Linked DNA regions of Homo sapiens: all the other regions are linked to region 3. Evidence: promoter capture Hi-C in human tissues and cell types (Jung and others, 2019). All regions are on one chromosome and are shown on one strand. The core of a region is centred on a gene start or on the middle of the fragment in contact, and the rest is flanking DNA. Distances in the headings are between cores, read along the strand shown.

The links. The method cuts DNA at HindIII sites, captures the fragments that hold promoters and counts their contacts. A contact is called where the count stands out against the background at its distance.
Region 1: a fragment that was not itself captured here is called in contact with the fragment with the promoter of DSN1 in region 3 in 1 of the 25 tissues and cell types used here (spleen).
Region 2: a contact is called between the fragment with the promoter of MYL9 here and the fragment with the promoter of DSN1 in region 3, in 5 of the 25 tissues and cell types used here (adrenal gland, aorta, lymphoblastoid cells and 2 more).
Region 4: a contact is called between a fragment that was not itself captured here and the fragment with the promoter of DSN1 in region 3, in 1 of the 25 tissues and cell types used here (mesenchymal stem cells).

Annotation. Positions count from the first base shown.
Region 1 is chr20:36,565,260-36,567,959 of GRCh38, forward strand. The region is part of intron 2 of DLGAP4-AS1 (DLGAP4 antisense RNA 1); the gene reads right to left. Among named protein-coding and RNA genes, the nearest start is that of DLGAP4-AS1, 6.7 kb to the right of the region's middle. The HindIII fragment of the contact is 8,105 bases long and covers 1-2,700 here.
Region 2 is chr20:36,540,157-36,542,856 of GRCh38, forward strand. MYL9 (myosin light chain 9) reads left to right here and starts at 1,363. Exons shown (of 4, transcript NM_006097.5): 1 at 1,363-1,405. The region is part of intron 2 of DLGAP4-AS1 (DLGAP4 antisense RNA 1); the gene reads right to left. RefSeq lists a silencer at 1,184-1,383 and an enhancer at 2,164-2,700. The HindIII fragment of the contact is 24,137 bases long and covers 1-2,700 here.
Region 3 is chr20:36,772,383-36,775,082 of GRCh38, forward strand. DSN1 (DSN1 component of MIS12 kinetochore complex) reads right to left here and starts at 1,381. Exons shown (of 11, transcript NM_001145315.2): 1 at 1,280-1,381. RefSeq lists enhancers at 1,140-1,685, 1,307-1,366, 1,497-1,636, 1,647-1,726, 1,686-2,232. The HindIII fragment of the contact is 22,977 bases long and covers 673-2,700 here.
Region 4 is chr20:36,621,670-36,624,369 of GRCh38, forward strand. All of the region lies in intron 5 of SLA2 (Src like adaptor 2), which reads right to left. Among named protein-coding and RNA genes, the nearest start is that of RAB5IF, 17 kb to the left of the region's middle. The HindIII fragment of the contact is 9,070 bases long and covers 1-2,700 here.

The sequences.
Region 1 (2,700 bases), core at 172-2,671, 210 kb before region 3:
TTTTTTTATTTTTTGTAGAGATGGGGTCTCACTACGTTGTCCAGGTTGGTCTCCAACTCCTGGGCTAAAGGGATCCTCCCACCTGAGCCACCCAAAGTGCCGGGATTACAGGCATAAGCCACCATGCCAGGGCCACATTATTCTTAAGTGGACATGGTACATTCTCCAGGAAAGACCATATGCTAGGTCATAAAACAAACCTCAATTAATTTAAAAGGACTCAAATAATACAAAGTGTGTTCTCTGAGGACACTATAATGAAATTAGAAATTTGGGAAACATGGGAAACTCACAAATATGTGAAATATGTGGAAATTAAACAACATACTCTAAATAATGAATGATTCGAAGAAGAAATCCAAAGGGGAATTAGAAAATATTATGAAATGAATAAAAAGGCTTAAAACTTATGAAATGCAGCTAAAGCAGTGCTTGAAGGAAAATTCATAGCTATCAATGCCTTTTTATTCCTTTGAGACAGTGTCTCGCTTTATTGCCCACACTGGAGTGCAGTCATGCAATCAGGGTTCACTGCAGCCTCACACCCCTGGGCTCAAACAATCCTCCCACCTCAGCCTTTGGAATGGCTGAAACTACAGGCAAAAGCCACCAACACCTGGCTTAATTTTTTATTTTTCGTAGGGATGGGGTCTTGTTACATTGCCCAGGCTGGTCTCAAACCCCTGAGCTCAAGCGACCCGCGTCTCAGCCTCCCAAAGTGCTGGTATGAGCCACCATGCCTGGCCATATGTGCCTATTTTTTTTATTATTTTTTATTTATTAATTTTTTTTTGAGACAAAGTCTTGCTCTGTCACCCAGGCTGGAGTGCAATGGCGCAGGCTGGGCTCACTGCAACCTCTGCCTCTCAGGTTTCAGCGATTCTCCTGCCTCAGCCTCCTGAGTAGCTGGGATTACAGGCATGTGCTACCATGCCCAGCTAATTTTCTATTTTTAGAGGCGAGGTTTCACTATGTTGGCCAGGCTGGTCTTGAACTCCTGACCTCAGGTGATCCGCCCAACCTCGGCCTCCCAAAATGCTGGGATTACAGGCATGAGCCACCACACCTGGCCCATATGTGCCTATTTAAAAAAAAAATGAAGATTGTAGGCCGGGCACGGTGGCTCACGCCTGTAATCCCAGCACTTTGGGAGGCTGAGGCAGGCGGATCACGAGGTCAGGAGATTGAGACCATCCTGGCTAACACGGTGAAACCCCGTCTCTACTAAAAATACAAAAAATTAGCCAGGTGTGGTGGCGGGTGCCTGTAGTCCCAGCTACTCGGGAGGCTGAGGCAGGAGAATGGCGTGAACCATGGCGGCGGAACTTGCAGTGAGCCTAGATTGCGCCACTGCACTCCAGCCTGGGGGACAGAGCTAGACTCTGTCTCAAAAGAAAAGAAAAAAGTAAATAAATAAATATAGATTGTAAATCAATAATCTAACCTTCCACTTTAAGATACCAGAAAAATTAGAAAAGAAGAGCAAAAGCAGGAGTAAGCAAAAGGAAAGAAACAATAAATGCTGGGGCAGAAATGAATGAAATAGAGAACAGAAAAACAATAGAGAAAATTGATAAAACCAAAAGTTGGTTCTTTGAAAAAAGTCAAAGCAACTGACAAACCCTCAGCTAGACTGACCAAGAAAAAAAGAAAAAAGACTTGAAATTACTAGAGTCAGAAATGGAGACGATAATATTACCATTAACCTTTCAGGAATAAAATCCTACCTCCTCCAATGACCAGTTTTATAACCTCAGGTGTTACTTAGCCCCTCTGTGCCTCCCTTATCTCTATTCTTTAATCCCAACACTTTGGGAGGCCGAGGCAGGTGGATCACTTGAGCTCAGGAGTTCAAGACCAGCTTGGGCAACACAGCGAAACCATGTCTCTACTAAAAATGCAAAAATTAGCTAGGTGTGGTGGCGGGCGCCTGTAATCTCAGCTACTTGGGAGGCTGAGACATGAGAATCACGGGAACCTGAGAGGCGGATGTTGCAGTGAGCAGAGATTGCACCACAGCGAGACTCTGTCTCAGAAAAAGAAAAAAGAAAAAAAAGCAGTGGACTCCTAGATCCTATGAAGGCTGCAACCTAGACCCGACAAGAGATCAGAAATTTATTATCCAAAGAATACAGAAGGTCCTGGACAGATGAACACCAGGCACAGGAGAGGAGAAGACAGCAACAACAGAAGGGTTACACAGAAATTCATGTACTCAGTGTTGAGGATATCCAGACCCTTAGTCTTCCTCCACTCAGCTTGGGAACACTGTCAGCAAGGCACAGAGCCCACTCAGGCCTTCATGCCGCACTAGCTCCCAGGGCCCCAGACCTTCTAGTACAATGGAAAAATGAGACTGTCAAGGCATAGCTCTCATCAAAGAAATTCCAGGCCAGGCACAGTGGCTCACACCTGTAATCCCAACATTTTGGGAGGCCAAGGCAGGCGGATCACCTGAGGTCAGGAATTTGAAACCAGGCTGGGCAACATGGTGGAACGCCATCTCTACTAAAAATACAGAAATTGGCCGGGTGCAGTGGCTCACGCCTGTAATCCCAACACTTCGGGAGGCCGAGGTGGGCAGATCACTTGAGGTCAGGAGTTCGAGACCAGCCTGGCTAACATGGTGAAACCCCATCTCTACTAAAAATACGAAAAATTAGCTGGGCGTGGTAGCCTGCGCCTATAATCCCAGCTACT
Region 2 (2,700 bases), core at 113-2,612, 230 kb before region 3:
GAAACTCTCAAATGGTTGGGGGTAGGAATAAATAAATATAAATGTATGTACATGTATTATATATATGTATATGTATATGGAAAGCAAGAAGAAAATATAATAAAACCCAATGGTAACAAATGGAGAATCTAGATGAAGCTATACAGGGTTCTTTGCACAGTTCTTCTAACTTTATCCTAAGTCTGAAATCATTTCAAAATAAAGTTTTTAAAAATTAATCTGTCCAAAATAGAGTTTCTTATCCCCAAACTGCTCCACACAGCAAACCCATCATAGAAAATGGCAGCTCTTTCTCGTTGCTCACATCAAAACTCTGAGAGTCCACCCTAACTCTTTTCTTTCACACCCATTCCCATGCCCCAGCAGATCCTACCGGCTGCACCTCGGAAATAGTTTTAGCACTTGTCCCTCGGCCTCCCCGCTAGTCCGGATCAGCCTGATCCTTGCTGGGTCGCTCCTCACAGGTCCCCTGCTCGTGGACTCGGCCCCCTCTGCGCTATTTTCAACACATCACCCAGAAGGATTCCGTCAAAACCCAAGCCAGGTCGTCACCCCCTGCTCGGAACCCTCCGACACCCCACATGGCCTACAGGGAGCCACAGAGGGGTCCCTGCTGCTTCTCAGCCCCTCCGGCTCCCGCCCCCATCCTCCTGACCTCCTGCTGCCGGCGACCCCAAGCCCGGGAGCCCTCACGGCGGGGCGCACCCCTGCACCTCCTGTCTGCCCAATGTCACTGCCCAGAGCACCCTGCGGAACAGCCCACGCTCCCCCCAGGTCCCCTTCTCCTTTGAGGCCCCAGGCCGCGGAGCTACTTGTTCATCGTGTTTCCCTCCACGAAACCAGTGCTTCCCGAGTGGTTCCTTCAACCCCGCTCTGGCGGGCGACCGCTGATGTGGACAGAGCGAGTCACCGGGCGTAGGGGTCCCTGGGAGCCCCCCCACCCACCGCCTCTGCCCTCCCCACGTCGAGAGCCGTTGCCCGTCAGGGGAAGCTGCACTCCCACGGCCCATACAAGTGGGAGGCCTCTGGGGAAGCGGCCCTGGACATTCCGTTTGCCTCTCTGGAGGGGAAGGGGTGGCCCAGAGCGAACCCCCACACCCCCTCTCCCATTGCCTGCTCACCCCATCACCTCCCCTCCCTACAAGGCCCTCTGTGCAGCCCGGGCTGGCACAGCAAGGAAGGGGGGCTCACCCCAGAGCGCCCCCGCCTGCCAGCCCGTGGGTCGAGGCCAAATAAGGCCGGACGGCAGCCGAGGGCCCCCGCACCCCGCCCGCGGCCCCGCCCCGCGCACATTCTTCTGCCTTGTAAGGCCCGGCCGCCACGCCCCGCCCCCGCCTGGAGTCCAGACCCGACGGCCGGCCCAGTTCCACGCACCCAGCGAGCCCAAGCGCCTTCTCCGCACCAGGTGGGATCCGGGGCCCCGGGGGTCTTGAGGACAGGCCTAACGGCCCAGGGCTGGAGATGAGAGGTGGCCCGGGCCCGACCCGGCTGTCACGGGGGGCAAAGGCGGGCCCCACGGACTGGGACGTGGTAGGGTCTGTTGGGCACGGACTGAGGGGTGAGCTGGGGCAGCGAGTTTGCTGGGGGCCGACAGGGACTCTGGCCAGGGGCCGGGCAGCAGGAAGGCTGTTCTGGCCTCTGAGAAGCAGTGGTCCTGCGGCAAGGGAAGGCCATCGTCCAGGCCCTGCCCCTTTGCTGAGGAGCTGGAGATGCCAAGCCCAGAGCTCCGGGGGGGGCTGGGGAGCCCGGGTACAAGGGTGCTGGGGAGAGGGTTGCAGTCGTCAGTTCCCCCTGGCCCAGTAAAGGCATGTGTGTCACAGATGGAGAAACAGCCCTGTGGGACTCCACGCCCCCACAGCATCTGTGTCCCCTCCCCATCTCCCATCCCTACACCCTGGGCCAGGGGAAAGGGACCGAGACCAGGGGGCCCTTCCGACACAGCCAGTGCTGTATGCAGGGACCCGGGCCTTCCCCTCTCTGGGTCATCTCGCCTGTGGGTGGGGAAGGTCTGCGGAGGGCCCTGATGGACTCACCCCTAGGGGGCAGGACGAGGACTAGTGGCTGGGAGAACCTGATCCCTGCTCTTCCCAGCCCTCCAGCTGCTCTAAGGAGGAGACTCAGATGAGGTGCACTGAGAAGGAGGCATCTGGCCTGCCCAGCTCCAGGGGCTGGAGGTCATGGGGGCACTGCCCTGTGCTGGCTTCAGCCCAGCCTTTTCTGTTATGGTGGGAATCTGGACACCAGGATGGGGGACATGGCATCCAGTCACATCCAGGCCAAGTATCAGTGCTGACCCCTGGTGTCTAGGGCACCTGAAGGGGGAAGCGATGGCCTCAGAACTAAAGGCCCCACCCATGCCTGCCCCTCGCCCCTCCACCAGTTCTAGAAGGCGCCTCTGGATACACAGAGCCCTTTCCCACTCCACTGCCACAGGCCCGCCTGAGGACTGGGGCTCCCTGTTTTGTTCAAGCCTCGAGGGCACCAGCAGCCAAGTTTGCTCTCCACTGACCCAAACCTAGCCCAGGAATCCTGTCTTCCAGGTGGCCCCTCCCCCTCTCATGGGCACTCCACTCCCCTTCTGGGGCCTCTTTTCCTAGCTGCACCATGGGGGCACCCCTGCCTCCGCTCACCACTTCCCACAATTGCTGGGGTGGACATGGCGGCCTTGTGCAAGCCCTTAAGTACAGTGCTCCCAGCCAC
Region 3 (2,700 bases), core at 131-2,630:
GGTTCAAGCAATTCTCCTGCCTCAGCTTCCTGAGTAGCTGGGATTACAGGTGCCTGCCACCACACCTGGCTAATTTTTGTATTTTTAGTAGCGATGGGGTTTCCCCATATTGGCCAGGCTGGTCTCGAACTCTTGACCTCAGGTGATCCGCCCGGCCTCAGCCTCCCAAAGTGCTGGGATTACAGGCCTGAGCCACCACACCCGGCCCAGTCTATTCTTCAGACAGTTGCCGGGACTTTTCCAAAGTGTAGTCAACACCTCAGGTAAACTAGTCCCAATTTACCCATTCCTGCTCTCTCCTCCCAGTCCTATTCCCTGTACTACTTCTGAATCTTTGCACATATCTGTCCTTCTACCTGTTAAACTTATTCATCCTTCCCAACCTGGCTCAAATATGAAGCTTTCACATCACTTATCTTTGGCAGAGTTGGTGGTTATGCCCCTTGGCCTTCGTAGCATTGGCTATAAAATCTGTTTACATGTCTGTCTCCCCAGCCAGGCTGTATTTGTATTCCTAGTGACTGTCAGGAACAACTGCCTGGAAGGCAGGGATGTCACCTAGGCATCTCTTCATCGTCCCCTCCCTCCCAGCAGAAATCTGTCTGTGGGGGGTGCTAAGTAAAAAGATATGAATATATGCAGAGGGACAAAAAGGAAAAGATAACAAGGAGGGCTCGGTCAAGGATCTGAATCCCCCACGGTCCTTATGACAATATCACACAAATCCAGGCTTGGATAATAACGACTGTATCACACAGATCCAGGCTTAGAAAAGCAACAACTGTCAACTGTTAAACGCTTATTCTGTGCTAGGACCTGTGCTATGTAAGCGCTTTACTTGCATCGTTATTCCACTTAATCCCTTCCACAACTCCGTAAGCACCATTAACTCCACTTTGCAGACAGGGGAACTGAGGTTCAGAGGGGCAAAAAGCCTGGCCCAAGCTTGTGACACAGCCAGCCTGGGGGCACAGGGGCAATTCGAACCCCAGCCCTCTACCCAGTCCTCACCCCTGTTTCTGGAGCCTAGACCCCTGGCACGGCAGATACGTCTCTAATGGGGTCGGTAAGGGGGACTGCCCTCGGGTTTCATTTCACCCGGGAGGAGGTCGCAGCGCCCTCGGGGACCCCCAGTGTCCACGGTCGGGGCCGGGGCTGCGGCGGGTCGAGCTGGGCCGACGGGTACGACGCCGAAGAGATTAGTGCGGCGGCGGGCGGGGCCACATCAGAGGACAAGTCTGTGACTTCCTGACGCCCGTCCAGTCCGGAACCTCCGTACCTGAAACACAAGGCCACGGGTCGCTCTCCACAGCCCCAGGTCACTCCTGGACGCCTTGCGCACCCGCAGCCGATACTCCCTGATCAGGGTGAAGCGGTCTCCACCTTCTACGTCACGGTCACCGCCTCCGAAACTCCCGCCAACCAAGGGCGCATGCGCGGCCGTCAGTTTCTCGGGCACGCGCGCGCAGAACGCCTGCCTCCGGCGATGCACATGCGTACACCGCCGCCCGACGCGCATGCGTACACCGCCGTCCAACGCTCCTGCCAGCTCCGCTCCTCTAGTCCAAGTCCTTTAGGTCCTGTCTGGCCACGTCACCACCTCCCCGCAACACCCCGCCCGGGAGTCCCTTTCCGGGACCCGCCACACTATCGTGTCCTTTTGCGCCCGACGGCCCCAGAGCCCATCTAAGATGGGGGAAACAGAGGCCCGGAGAGATTCTTGCCGGAGGAATACAGCGCCTCAAAGGGCATCTGATGCCCTGTCCCCGTCGCTAGGCTCTGGTTCCCACTCCCTTTATCTCCTTAACTCCCAAAATGTGGACCGTGACTCTCCCCAGGGTGGACTGGAGCTCTGAGCTCAGTTTGCCTCACAGTCTATCCCACTCCTGCTCTAGGACTTTTTCTCTCTCATTTCCAGGCCACTCCCTCAAACGGCTTGCTTTACTTGCTTGGTGGGTGGGGGCCTGCCCTCGGGTTTCATTTCACCCGGGAGGAGGTCGCAGCGCCCCCAAGTGGTCGCAGTGTCCTTAGTCGGGGTCGGGGGGTGCGGCAGGTCGGGCTGGTCCTTAGGGGTAGGACGGGGACAGGGCATCAGATGCCCTTTGAGGCGCTATATTCCCAGGCGCTGTTCCCTCTGCCTGGGAAGGCTTTCCCTGCTTTTCCTAGCTACATCCTCCAATTTTTTTGTATTTTGAGACGGAGTCTCGCTCTGTCGCCCAGGCTAGAGTGCAGTGGCGCGATCTCGGCTCCCGGCAACCTCCGCCTCCCGGGTTCGGGTTCAAGCGATTCTCCTGCCTCAGCCTCCCGAGTAGCTGGGATTACAGGCGCCCACCACCACGCCTGGCTAATTTTTGTATTTTTAGTAGAGACGGCCACTAAAAATGTTGGCCAGGCTGGTCGCGAACTCCTGACCTCAAGTGATCCACCCACTTCGGCCTCCCAAAGAGCTGGGATTACAGGCATGAGCCACTGCGCCCGGCCACATCCTCGAATTTTAAGCCTCAGCTAAGGAATGATTGATTTCTCTCCAAGCATTCTCTCTGGCCTTAGGCTGAAAACCAACTGTCCTTTCTGTGCTCCCAGGAGCCCAATCTGTTCCTGCTCCACTATCCCATGCTGGTCTAGGAGGCTCCAGAGAGCGGGCTGCTTCCTCAGCACCCAGCACGACGCCACCAAAATGTCCCCTTGGATGTGCACAGT
Region 4 (2,700 bases), core at 108-2,607, 150 kb before region 3:
GCTTAACAATGAGGATAAATGTAAAATTAAAATTTATTTTAAAAATAAGAACTAAACATTGGCCAGGGACAATGGCTAATGCCTGTAATCCAAGAACTTTGGGAGGTGGAGGTGGGAGAATCACTTAAGCCCAGCCAGGAATTTGAGACAAGCCTGGATAACATGGTGAGAGTCTTTCTCTACAAAAAATTTAAAAATTAACCAGGCATGGTGGTACATGCCTGTGGTCCCAGCTACTCCAGAGGCTGAGGCAGGAGAATCGTTTGAGCCTGTGACGTTGAGGCTGCAGTGAGCCATGACTGTGCCACTACACTCCAGCCTAGCCAACAGAGGAAGACTCTGTCTCAATCAATCAATAGCTGAACATTGGCTGGGTGCGGTGGCTCACACCTGTAATCCCAGCGCTTTGGGAAGCCGAGGCAGGTGGATCACCTGAGGCCAGGAGTTCAAGACCAGCCTGGCCAACCCATGGTGGAAGTTGCAGTGAGCCAAGATCATGCCACTGCACTCTAGCCTGGGTGACAGAGCAAGACTTGATCTCAAAAAAAAAAAAAAAAATTAGCTGGGCATGGTGGCATGCGCCTGTTGTCCCAGCTACTCAGGAGGCTGAGGCAGGAGTATCTCTTGAACCCGGGAAGCAGAGGTTGTGGTGACTCAGCCTGGGCAACAGAGCGAGACTCCATCTCAAAAAAAAAAAACAAAAAACTGAAAAACCACGATCACCTGAAAAAATGCAGAAAAATCATTTGACAAAATTCAACACCCTTCATGATTAAAAAAAAAAAAAGCAGAAAACGATGAATAGAATATGTTAGTTTCCTATTGCTGGTGTAACAAATTACCATCAATTCAGCAGCTTAAAATAACACAAATTATTATTTTACAGTTCTGGAGGTTAGAAGTCTGAAATGAGTTTCACTGGACAAAAATCAAGGTGTCAGCAAGGCAATGTTCCTTTTGCAGACTCTAGAGAAGAAATCCATTCCCTTTTCCAGTTTCTAGAAGCCATATGGATCCCTCTGCTCATGGCCCCTTCCTCAGTCTTCACAGCCAGTAGCATCTTCCTGTCTCTAACTCTCACCCTCCTACCTCCCTCTCGTAAGCATCCTGGTGATTATATTGGGTCCATCTGGACAATCCAAAATAATCTTCCCACCTCAAAATCCTTAATCACATCTGCAAACTCTTTTTGCAATGTAAGGTAACATATTCACAGGTGCTGCAGATCAGGACCTGAACATTGTTGGGGGGGATGATGATTCTGCCTACCACAGAAGAGTACCTGATACAAAGCATCTGTGAAAAATCTACAGCTAAGGCTAGGTGCGGTGGCTCATGCCTGTAATCCCAACACTTTGGGAGGCCGAGGCTTGCTGATCACCTGAGGCCAGGAGTTCAAGACCAGCCTGGCCAACATGGTGAAACCCCCATCTCTACAAAAATAGAAAAATTAGCTGGGCATGATGGCGTGTGCCTGTAATCTCAGGTACTCCAGAGGCTGAGGCAAGGTATTGTTTGAACCAGGAGGCAGACGTTGCAGTGAGCCGAGATCAGGCCACTGCACTCCAGCCTGGGTGACAGAGTGACATTACATCTCAAAAAAAAAAAAAAAAAAAAAAAATCGACAGCATGCTTAATAGGAAAGATTGATTATTTTCCATCTAAGATTGGGAACAAAGCAATAATGTTCTTACCGCTTCTACTCAGTGTTGTACTAAAGGTCCTAACAAGTGCAATAACACAAGAAAAATAAATTTAAAGTATATGGATTGGAAAATAATACAGCTGCCTTTACTTACAGGTAATACAATCATATGTAGATAATCATAAGGAATCTGCCAAAAAGCTACTAGAACTAAAAGTAAATTTAGTAAGGTGACCCAGAGTCAATATGCTTTGAGAAGTGTATTGACCCCAGTAGGGTCTCTGCTTCGTTTTCTTTGTTTTCTTTGCCTGACTGGGAGCCCTTTGACCTTTGTACCTTTATTTTTTTTTTCTTTTTCTTTTTTAGAGACAGTTTCACTGTGTTGCTCAGGCAGGCCTCAAACTCCTGGGCTTGAGTGATCCTGTTGCCTCAGCCTCCCAAGTAGCTGGGGCTATAGGTGTGCACCACCACGCCTGGCCTGTATTCTGTACCTTTGAGAAGAGTCTCTTCTTGAGCTGTGCTGTAACCCTAAAAAATTCTGTGGCTGGGAATGCGCTAAATATTTGAAAATAGGCCCAGAAGGCCAACCAACCCAGCTGAACTAGTGACCAAGACCTTATAACTTTTGCATGGTTCTTGAACCACCCACCCCAGCCACTGTCACGACAGTTATTAGAATCAGAAAGGGTAGCTACACTTGGGATCTGGTTGGTGGTCTCAGGGATAAAGAGGTCAGGAGTCATCCATTCCTGATTGCTTCCTGTCTCAGCCTCACATCCAGCCCAACAGAAAGCCCTGTTGGGTGTGGTCAGAACACAGCTAAGATCCAACCACTTCTCACCTGGAGAGAGCCTACTACGGCTTCCTGCGCGGCATCCTCTCTTCTCAGCAGGAAGGAGGGGTCAGGTCGTCTCATGCCCCTACTCAGAATCCTCCCTGTCACACTTAAAATCAATCCCAAGTCCTCTCCCTGGAAAGGCTCTGTGTGACCTGACTCTAAACTCGCCACTCCCCTCATCCTGTCTTCCCTGACCGCCTGCTGAGGACGCGCCTCC